Regions from separate parts of the Homo sapiens genome. Here all the other regions are linked to region 1. Evidence: promoter capture Hi-C in human tissues and cell types (Jung and others, 2019). All regions are on one chromosome and are shown on one strand. Each heading gives the region's core, a stretch centred on a gene start or on the middle of the fragment in contact. The rest is flanking DNA. Distances are from core to core; before and after follow the strand shown. Region 1 holds the start of THAP11 (THAP domain containing 11). Region 2 overlaps VPS4A (vacuolar protein sorting 4 homolog A). Region 3 overlaps TANGO6 (transport and golgi organization 6 homolog).

Region 1 (3,611 bases), core at 529-3,028:
CAAACAAAACAGGATAAACCTAAGTCCCTGGCAAGCTGGATCTCCATCAGCAGGTCATCCAGATCCCCTTGTAAATGGCCTCCTGGGAAAATAAGTCCTAGGAGGCAGAGGCACAGATTTACCAGTCCCCATCAGAATCACAGGCTGCACCTGGGAAGGAAAAGCATGAAAAGGAGGAGAACTGATGTTACTTGAATCTCTTATCACTACACACATTAGAGTTGTCTGACTGCTGACCAACCTTAAGGTATGGTTTTCCCAAACCTATAGTCCCTGGACATCCCACCTGCATCCCTAGAGGGTAAGTTTCAAGTTCAGTGGTTCTGAAGCCTCTGCTTAACCAGAATCTGCAACAATAACTGGGGAGGAAGGGTAGACAAAGTCATAATTGCTGGTGTCACCAGGGCAGAGTCTAAGGCCCCAGCTTCCACTTCAGGAGGAAACAATTGAGGATGCCAGGTCACCAGCAAGAGAGTCCAGCTGCCTTAAGCCTCAGTACTGTCAACCAGTGCCCAGGAGTATAGAGGAGTTCAACAATGGCCTGCGGTCCCCTGGCTGGATGGGGTCTGGGAGTCCAGCAGGCTGCCGGGGCACCAGTTCACATTCCGTGCTTCTTGCGGATGACAGCCATGGCAAGCAGCCGATCCTTCTCACGCAGTTCTTCGCGCAGCTTGGCCTCAGTGAGACGCAGGTGGCGAATGCTGCCTTTCATCTCTTTCATCTTCACTTCCATCAGAGCCAGGATGTCCCGCTGCTCATTCAGCTTGCGCAGGAGCTCCTCCTCCGTGGTGCCTGACGACAAGGAGTACGAATGGTCGGAGCCAGTATCAGGGAAGCCCTCTTCCCCTACCACCACCAACTGGGGGCCCATAGGGCACTCGGCAGCCTCCAGCCCTGCGGTAGCAGCCTGTAACTCCGACGCGGCGGCCGCAGCGGCTGCGCCCTCTGCGGCTGCAAACTCCACTTGCACTGTGAGATCGATGGGCTTCACGTCTTCTCCAGTGGGAGTGATGGGCGCCGGCTGTACGGATCCCGGAGCCTGACTGCTGTCTACAGTGGCCTGAAGGGTGAGAAGCACGGCCGCGGAAGCAGATACCAGGTTCGGCTGCAGCTGGGCAGTCTGGGCAGTGGAGGCAGAGGGTGAGGACTGCTGCTGCTGCTGCTGCTGCTGCTGCTGTTGCTGCTGCTGCTGCTGTTGCTGCTGTTGCTGCTGCTGCTGCTGTTGCTGCTGCTGCCTGCGGCGGGCGGCCGCGGCCCCAGCGGGTCTGCGCGCTACTTTGCGCTCATTGACGCCGCGCAGCGGGAAGATGGTGGGGACGCGTACCGTGTAGGTCTTGCGGCCGCCCTGGAAGTGAACGCTGCAGAGACGGTGGCCTGTGGTGGGCTGGAAGGTGGAGAAGCACCCACTGACGCCGGCACGCGACACGTTCTTGAGCCAGAGGCGCCGCAACTCAGCGTCCTTTGGAAACGTGTAGAAGTGCAGCGCCTTGTCCCGGTGCGAGTTGTTGTAGCAGCCTGGCACGCAGCACGTAAAGCCAGGCATGGCTGCGCCGCGCGGCCCGGCCCGGCCCACCGGCCTCCTGCGCTCTTCGACGGCCCAGTGGCTACGCCGCCGCCCGCCCCTCGACGGGCGGCGCCGCGCGAGGCCTTGGGTGGTATCCCACCACTGCCGCTCGGCGCAGCCGGCCCGCCCGGCGCCCCGTGCCCAGAATACGCTTCCTGCCGGCCCGCGCCGCGCCGCCCGCCTGGCTGCCCGCCTGCGCTCGGGAGTGGGCCCCGGGGACGCCGCGAAGGACCGCCTGAGAAAGAGACTACGCCCCCCACAATGCCCCGCGCCAGAAGCGGCTCACTTCCGGGGCGGGTGTGTGCGGATTCCTGCCGCCTTCCAAGGCACTGCGATAGCCTCCGAAGAGCAGATTCTTTCCCCAGCCCGTCTTGTCCCCGGCGGGCGAGAGAGGCGTATTAGGTTGGAACGCTGTCGCCTGGACTGCTCCTCACGAGGACCCGAATCCTGATAGGGGCGTGGAGCGGGGCGGTGCGCGCCTCACCGGTGCGCAAGCGCGGTGGGTATATGCCCACGGAGACTACAAATCCCGTGATGCCTCGCGCTGAACTAGGCGCCTTCCCTCCGAAGCGCCGCCTAAGGGAAAGATCGAGTTACTGCGGACCAGGATTCGGGCGAGGTTGTGCTGTTTGCCAGAACCAGTTCCCCAGCCCCGAGCCCCTTTGAGTCGACGGCATTGCTGCAGCAGAGGGAGACGAAACCTGGGCCTCGGCGCCCCGAAGGGTCTCAGGAGCCCCTTTCTTTGCGTTGGGGACTCTCTCCTGATTCAGCTGCTGCCTGCGTTGACTAACTGATCTAAACAAAGTCTCCAGTAGACGCCTACTATGTGGCTGACACGGTGCCGGGAGTTTGCGGGAGTCAGACCGACTGGGCTCCTCTCTTGGAGCCTGACTACCTAGACGGATAAGCGTCTGTCTTTTGGATAATAGATCTGAATGCACGCGAATGGATGTCTACTCACAAATAGTAATCGCTCCAAAGGAATTAACAGGAGAGCAGAGAAATGGGGGGGAGGTGGTGGGGGCCAGGAATAAAAAAACGAACGAAAGCTTGGGTAGGGAGAAGTAGCCAATTCTTGTCCCAGGAACCAGTCTGTAAGGCCACATGGCAGAAAAGAGCTAGGCTCCGCCATTAAAGAGCCTGGAAAGGGGTGGCCCGGGTAGGGCCAAGCGTAGGAAAATACCAAACTGGGACATGTTAAGGATTTGGGGTTTTATTCTGCAGGCCACTGAGAGCTATTAAAGGATTTTATGGGAAAGGATTTGCATTGTAACAATACACCTCCCCCCACCTCAACTTATTTGAGGGAATCTTTTTTTTTTTTTTTTTTTTTTTTTTTTGTAAAGGAGTCTCACTGTGTCGCCAGACTGGAGTGCAATGGTGAGATCTCGGCTCACCGCAACCTCCGCCTCCTGGGTTCAAGCAATTCTCCTGCCTCAGCCTCCGGAGTAGCTGGGACTACAGGCGCATGCCACCATGCCCGGCTAATATATATATATATATATATATATATATATATATATGTATTTTGTATTTAGTAGAGACGGGGTTTCGCCATGTTTCTCAGGCTGGTCTCGAACTCGTGAGCTCAGGCAATCTGCTCGCCTCGGCCTCCCAAAGTGCTAGGATTACAGGCGTGAGCTAGGATCACGGCGCCTGGCTGGGGGAAAATGTTTTAAAGAACACAAAATGTTGTGGAAAGCCAGGGAGGGGCCAGGCAGTTCTCCAGGTGAATTACCTGCAAACTAGCCCTCCTTTGCCGAGTTCTTCCTTCTCCCAATTTTTTTTAAACTTTTACTTTAGGTTCGGGGGTACGTGTGAAGGTTTACTACATAGGTGAACTCGTGTCACCGCGATTTGTTGTACAGATTATTTCATCACCCAGGTATTAAGCCCAGTACCCAATAGTTATCTTTTCTGTTCCTCTCCCTCCTCCCGCCCCCCGCAATTAGACCCCAGTGTCTGTTGTTGTCTTCTTTGTGTTCATGAGTTCTCATCATTTAACTCACACTTGTGAGAATATGTGGTATTTGGTTTTCTGTTCCTG
Region 2 (3,611 bases), core at 1-2,500, 1.5 Mb before region 1:
ATCTGGGCGCGGGCAGCTTCCTCCGGCAAGGGGATATAAATTCGTTTTTCAAACCTAGAGAGCCCAGCACACGGCAGGAGTTGACAGCGGATGATGGAATGGTATTCACGGAAGGGGAGGCACGAAGATTTGAGTGAAACGGACGCATTTCATGGGCCAGTGATGCTGGCGGCACATCCTCAACAAGCCAGCCTCACAAAGGGCTCTGCTTGGCAGGCAGACGGGAAGACTCCAGGGAAAAGGGGCCAGGCTGCACCCGGGCTGCCAGCAGCAGGCGGACCGTGACCATGGTGGGAGGAAGCCTCCAGCCCTGGCTTCTCCTGGGGAAGACTCACCTCCTCCTGATGGCCGAATCCAACACCCATGGGATGTTTGTGGCTCCAAGAACCAGAGTCCCATCATTGTTATTCCCCACCCCTGTGGAGAAAGGGAGACAAAGACTCAGACTCTGGACACCTGCACGGGTCAGTTGAAACCTGGGGACAGACCCCGGGGGCTTTGTGTGTCAGCAATTGAAGCCATCCCTGTGCCACCCACCACTGGCAGGGTCCCAAGTGAGATTAAACCACATCTTGGTCTGGCTGTGCCAGGTGAGACCTATGGCACTGCCTGCCATGGGAGGGGTGGAGTGGCCCGTGAGGCAGAGGCCTCAGGCACCTCTTGGGAATTGAAGTCCACCCGTGCCCTGAGGGGCTGGAGCTGGGGAGTGCCTCTCCGAGGCTGAGAACAACCAAATCCAGCCGCAGCTCAGAATAAAGCCCAGGGTTGGCTTCAGGTGCAACAAGAACCAAGGGGGCCCTGGGCCCGGCACACACCCTGCATCTGGACCAAGAACTCCGTTTTGATCCTCCGGGCGGCCTCACTCTCATTTTCATTTCGGGACCCGCAGAGGGAATCCACCTCATCGATGAAGATGATGGAGGGCTTGTGCTGCCTGGCCAGCTCAAACAGGTTCTTGACCAGCCTGTGAAGGTGAGAAAGGGGGTGAGGACAAGACGTTCACGTCCGTGCCCGCCTGGGCTCCCGGCACTTCCCTCTTCTCACCCTTCCCACAGGGAGGCGCAGGCCACGGTCATGCCGGAATTGCGGAAAACGTGGTGGTGAGGAGCCCTCGGGCCACACTGCACCAAGAGGAGGAGCACACCTTGGTGTCAGCCCCAAACGCAGAGCCTCAATCCCAGGAGCCCCATGCGCTAGCTCTGCACTTACAACACGTCAGTCCCCTTCTTCCGAGCCCGTCTCATCACACGCAAAACAGGAGTCAGTGTGGGGAACCATGTCCCCCACACACTGCCCCAACAGGGACCGCAACCCAGACCCCAAAAATATCCTCACTTCCTTTCCCTTCTCTTGTGGAGCACTTCACCTCTCCCAGGTCCCTTCCACCTTCACTTGTCTTTGTTGGGACTGTGTCCCAGCCGATAAGCTAGCGACACACTGCTCTTGGGTACCCTCCCTGAAAACCAAACCACTCCTCTGAGAGGTGACTCCACAGGGTGGGCCGCTGGGTCACTAGCAGTGCCGGGGCTGCTGGCAGAGCATGGCCTGGTGGCCGACTTACTTTTCACTCTCCCCCAGCCACTTGGACATCAGATCTGAGGAGGACACAGAGAAGAAGGTGGAGTTGTTGGCCTCTGTTGCCACGGCTTTGGCCAGGTAGGATTTCCCTGTGCCAGGGGGTCCGAACAGCAGAATCCCCCGCCAGGGGGTGCGCTTGCCTGCAACAGAGAACCACAGAAGTTAGGCCTCCTGACTGGGGAAAGGAATAGGAAAAGCAGAGGGTCTCGAGTCCCATACATACAGTAAAACAGGGCATTCTGTGAAACAACGGACTCTACTGGCAAACAAGTGATGGGAGCTACATTCCCTGCTGTGCCCTGTGCTATGACCCCATGACCTTGCACAGTGCCCCTGCTATGACCCCATGACCTTGCACAGTGACACCGGCTGGCACTGCTTCCTGATCCTGCCCCCACCCTGTGACGTGATCGTCATCTCATAGCTCCAGCCACAGCAGTGTTGTGGACACCAGCGAGCAGCCAGGCCTGGCCCTCTGCAGGCCCCGGGGGCTGAGTCGCCACTGACTCCCGGGTGCCTCGGAGTGCCAGCCCTGCGGAAGCCTGGAATTTTTACATTGGGGTTTGAAATGGCTCAACTCTCACCTGTGAACAAGTGTGGGAATTTGATTGGCAAAATGACAGCTTCTTTGAGGGCCTCCTTGGCCCCCTCCAGCCCGGCCACGTCGTTCCACCGTATGTTGGGCTTCTCCATCACGACGGCACCTGCGAGAGGGAGGCCGGCCCGGGCCCGGGCCCGGCCAAGGGGCATGAGCCAACCCAGCAGCGGACCCACTCTCATCCCCTGCCGCTGCCACAGGGCCGCGAGCCACTTACCCATCAGCTGTTCTTGCAGTTTCTTTTTCTCCGGATTATCCCCTTCACTGTCACTGTCACTGCTGGGAAGGGAGACGGAAAGTCACAAGCTGGCCCTTCAGCCTGGAGCACAGAGGTGCTCCCAGCAAGTCCAGGCTCCGCTGCCTGCACACTGGTTAAGGAACGAAGCCTTCCTGGCTTAACAGTGCCGTGTGACTCAAGCAAGTACTTCAGGGACATTTGGGCCAATGCTCTCAGCAGCTCACTTCAGGACCCCCCCAGCAAACACTCCTATAACCCGCCCTGTTTCTTCGCGGAGCAGATGGGAATCCGGGTCGGCCCTCTCCTGAAGGCCGTAAGGGAAATGTGCTTCAGCTGGACTTAAAGAGCAGCCCAGGCCAGGTGCGGTGACTCACACCTCATACTCTGGGAGGCCACCTGCAGTGGCTCTCACAGCCCAGGCTGGGTGCGGTGGCTCACCCCTGTAATCCCAGCACTCTGGGAGGCTGAGGCGGGAGGATCGCTTGAGCCCAGGAGTTTGAGACCAGCCTGGGAAACAGCGAGATCTTGTCTCTACAAAAAACACAAAATTAGCCAAGCATGGTGGCACGCACCTATGGTGCCAGCTACTTGGGAGGCAGAGGTTGCAGTTAACCAAGATCGCACCACTGCACTCCAGCCTGGGAGACAGTGAAGCCCTGTCTGGGGGAAAAAAAAAAAAAAAAGCCAGTCAAACAATGCAGCTGCCAGAAGCTTCTTTTTTTTTTTTTTTTTTTTTTGAGATGGTGCCCAGGTTGGAGTGCGATGGCACAATCTCCATCTCAGCTCACTGCAATCTCCGCCTCCCGGGTTCAAGTAATTCTCTGAATTCTCTGGCGTCAGCCTCCCGAGTAGCTGGGATTACAGGCACATGCCACAATGCCTGGCTAATTTTTTTTTTAAGACAGAGTCGCACTCAGTCGCCCAGGCTGGAGTGTAGTGGCTCGATCTCGGCTCACTGCAAGCTCCGCCTCCCGGGTTCACGCCATTCTCCTGCCTCAGCCTCCTGAGTAGCTGGGACTACAGGTGCCCGCCACCACGCCCGGCTAATATTTTGTATTTTTAGTGGAGACGGGGTTTCACCGTGTTAGCCAGGATGGTCTCAATCTCCTGACCTCGTGATCCGCCCGCCTCGGCTTCCCAAAGTGCTGGGATTACAGGCGTGAGCCACCGCGCCCGGCCTATTTTTTTGTATTTTTA
Region 3 (3,611 bases), core at 523-3,022, 1.1 Mb before region 1:
GGGCGGATCACGAGGTCAAGAGATCAAGACCATCCTGGCTAACACAGTGAAACCCTGTCTCTACTTAAAAAATACAAAAAAATTAGCCGGGCATTGTGGTGGGAGCCTGTAGTCCCAGCTACTCGGGAGGCTGAGGCAGGAGAATGGCGTGAACCCGGGAGGCGGAGCTTGCAGTGAGCCGAGATCGTGCCACTGCACTCCAGCCTGGGCGACAAAGCAAGACTCAGTGTCAAAAAAAAAAAAAGAAGAAGAAGAAGAAACAGAAATTAGACTTCATTGAAAGTAAAAACTTCTGTGTTTCAAATGACACCATTATGTAAGAGAAAAGACAATCCACAGGATGGCAGAAAATATCTGCAAATCATGCATCTGATAAAGGACTTTTCTCCAGAATGTATAAAGAACTGTTATAACTCAATGATAGGAAGGAAAAAAAAAATTAAAAATGGGCAAAGAGGCTGGGCGCAGTGGCTCACGCCTATAATCCTAGCATTTTGGGAGGCCAAGGCGGGGGATCATCTGAGGTCAGGAGTTCGAGACCAGCCTGGCCAACATGGCTAAACCCTGTCTCTACTAAAAATACAAAAATTAACTGGGTGTGGTGATAGGCATCTGTAATCGCAGCTACTCAGGAGGCTGGGGCAGGAGAATCACTTGAACCTGGGAGGTGGAGGTTGCAGTGAGCCAAGATCATGCCACTGCACTCCAGCCTGGGCAGCAGAGTGAGACTCCATCTCAAAAAAAAAAAAGGCAAAGAATCTGAATAGACACTTCTCTAATGAAGATTTACAAATGGGCAATGAACTCATAAAAAGATCTTCAACATCACTAGTCATGAGTGAAGTGCAAATCAAATCACAATGAGATACCCCTTCACACCCATTAGGGTGGCTATGTGAAAGCTGATCAAACAAATTTGGTCATTTTTGTCATACCCACCTAAGAGTTGAGAGGCCAGGGAAACAAAGCACGCAGTGCACATAATATTGCCCCAAAAGTATAATTCCCTACAAGCCCAGCTGCTGAAACTCCCTATTGTGACCTAAAACCAAGAAATTAAAAAAAAATAAAATAAAAAAGAAATTTAAAAAAGTAACCTAAAACCAGTTTTATCTTAGCTACTGAAACAAACTTGCTGCAACTCTAAGACTAGTTTTACCCACCACTGTCACTCCTCAGAGCTTGTCAGCTGCTCAGAACTTTACAGTGCCAATGAACTTTCTTTCTGGAACAGTATGTAACATTTCTCCTTTTTATAAAATCTCCAAACTTCTTCCTCTTCTTCTTCTTTTTTGTTTTTGAGACAGAGTCTCGCCCTGTCACCCAGGCTGGAGTGCAGTGGCCTGATCTCAGCTCACTGCAACCTCTACCTCCTGGGTTCAAGTGATTCTCCTGCCTCCAGAGTAGCTGGGATTACAGGTGTGCACAACCACACCTGGCTAATTTTTGTATTTTTAGTAGACATGGGTTTTCACCATGTTGGCCAGGCTGGTCTCGAACTCCTGACCTCAAGTGATCTGCCTGCCTCAGGCGTGAGCCACCGTGCCCGGCCAAACCTCTAAACTTATCTTTGTTCTTCAGACATATGGAAGACCACCCTGTCTGTGTATGCCCTGAATTGCAATTCTTGCTTCTGCAAAATGTTTTAAATTTAGAGATTTGTCCTTATATTTTATTTGATTTTGACATATGTGGTGTCAGAAGTGGGATTCCAAACCTGACTCACCTTGGGAAAAATCATCGGCCCTTGGAACTATGACATAAGGTACTCACATTGAGGGCCTTTGAGCACCCTCTCTCCCACGAGTCAGCTAGGTGTTCCCTGGTGAGTCTCCTGGATGGCACTCCTGCTTTGGGTAAAGTTCTGTTTTGTTTGGGATTTGCTTAGAGAAGGGTCTTTCCTCCTCTTATTTGGAGGGGGGTCTCTCTCTGGTTGGGAGATCATCTGTTGGGGAGGACTCTTTTCCTCCTGGCAGACCTCAGCTGTGAGGTCTGAGTGAAGAGATATTTTTCCTCCAGGTTGAGGCCTGGGTGAAAGAATTTTTCCTTTTCCCTTCAGTTGGGAAAGGCAGCTGATCGTCCTCTTGGTAAGTACATACTTTATTTTCCATCAGCACTTGTGTTTATTTGGCTTTTGCATATTCAACACTTGCATTTAATTGGCTTTTGTATATTCAACATTAAACTGAGTCACCTAGATAAGTTTAATTACAAATGGGCTCTCAAAGTTCAAAGACATGCCAAGATATATTTTGAGATTCCAGCTGGTAACATGTTCAAACATTACAGGGATCATGCAGTCTGTTGTTCTTAAAACTAAACTAAAAGACCATGGCAATAAAATCATACATTCCAAATAAGACTCATATCTCAAGGGATATCTTTAGGCTAAAAAAACCAAACCCAACCCGGACTCAAAGACTGACTAGCTATAAAATACTATCTCAAAGTTGGTTGAGACTCTCCTCTTTGGAGCTTGCCCCTCCCCTTCTTAGAATTCCTTCTTACTCTCTTGCTCTAAGCTAACTCTCTTTTTCCAAAACTCCTCAGCTAGGCTGGCATGCTGACAATTTAAGTAAAAAACACGTAAAAACTAGCAGATATTTTAAAAAATATTATTTTGACCTTCGTGCTGTTTCTTAAAAGCAAAAAATAAAATTCTCATATAAAAGACCCCCTTTCCATACTAAAAGGAATGAGGAGATTCTTATCTTAAAGGGCAAAAAATTGAGACCAAGACAATACTTTACAGACACTGTTAAAAAAAAAATATCTTGGCCGGGTGCGGTGGCTCACGCCTGTAATCCCAGCACTTTGGGAGGCCAAGGAGGGCAGATCACGAGGTAAGGAGATTGAGACCATCCTGGCTGACATGGTGAAACCCCATCTCTACTAAAAAACACAAAAAATTAGCCAGTGCGTGGTGGCAGGCACCTGTAGTCCCAGCTACTCGGGAGGCTGAGGCAGGAGAATGGTGTGAACCCAGGAGGCGGAGCTTGCAGGGAGCCAAGACTGCGCCACTGCACTCCAGCCTGGGTGACAGAGCGAGACTCTGTCTCAAAAAAAAAAAAAAAAAATTCTCAGATTCAGGTTGCAGTGAGCTTTAATCATGCCACTGCATTCCAGCCTGGGTGACAAGGTAAGACCCTGTCTCAAAAAATAAAAATAATAAAATAAAATAAAGAAAAAAAAGAAAAAAAGAGAAATAAAAAATAAAAATAAGAATATAAATATAAATAAGGCCAGGCATAGTGGCTCACACCTGTAATCCCAGCCCTTTGGGAGACTGAGGCAGGCTGATTGCTTGAGCCCAGGAGTTTGAAACCAGTCTGGGCAACATGGCACAATCCTGTCTCTACAAAAAACACAAAAATTAGCTGGGTGTGGTGGCATATGCCCGTAGTCCCAGCTACTCGGGAGTCTAAGGTGGGAGGACTGCTTGAACTCCAGGAGGTGGAGGTTCCAGTGAGCTGACATTGTGCCACTGCACTTCAGCCTGGGTGACAGTCAGACCCTGTCTCAAAAAAAAAAAAAAAAATTAAAAATTAAATAAATGAAATAAAATTTCTCAGATTCATATTTCAGAGGCTTGACTTTTGCAGTATCTTGCT

Evidence for each region. Contacts are between HindIII fragments. The study calls those that stand out against the background at their distance.
Region 2: a contact is called between a fragment that was not itself captured here and the fragment with the promoter of THAP11 in region 1, in 1 of the 25 tissues and cell types used here (adrenal gland).
Region 3: a fragment that was not itself captured here is called in contact with the fragment with the promoter of THAP11 in region 1 in 1 of the 25 tissues and cell types used here (stomach).

The regions. Positions count from the first base shown.
Region 1 is chr16:67,840,487-67,844,097 of GRCh38, reverse strand. It overlaps THAP11 (THAP domain containing 11), which reads right to left and starts at 1,778. Exons shown (of 1, transcript NM_020457.3): 1 at 1-1,778. The coding sequence starts at 1,543. The coding sequence ends at 599. The region is part of intron 1 of CENPT (centromere protein T); the gene reads left to right. RefSeq lists enhancers at 455-504, 945-1,104, 816-1,562, 2,015-2,064 and a silencer at 1,585-1,764. The HindIII fragment of the contact is 20,232 bases long and covers 1-3,611 here.
Region 2 is chr16:69,317,494-69,321,104 of GRCh38, reverse strand. VPS4A (vacuolar protein sorting 4 homolog A) reads right to left here. Exons shown (of 11, transcript NM_013245.3): 4 at 2,394-2,455; 5 at 2,163-2,282; 6 at 1,562-1,718; 7 at 816-964; 8 at 336-417; 9 at 1-54. Among named protein-coding and RNA genes, the nearest start is that of VPS4A, 7.9 kb to the right of the region's middle. The HindIII fragment of the contact is 4,362 bases long and covers 1-3,431 here.
Region 3 is chr16:68,942,830-68,946,440 of GRCh38, reverse strand. All of the region lies in intron 14 of TANGO6 (transport and golgi organization 6 homolog), which reads right to left. Among named protein-coding and RNA genes, the nearest start is that of TANGO6, 100 kb to the right of the region's middle. The HindIII fragment of the contact is 7,830 bases long and covers 1-3,611 here.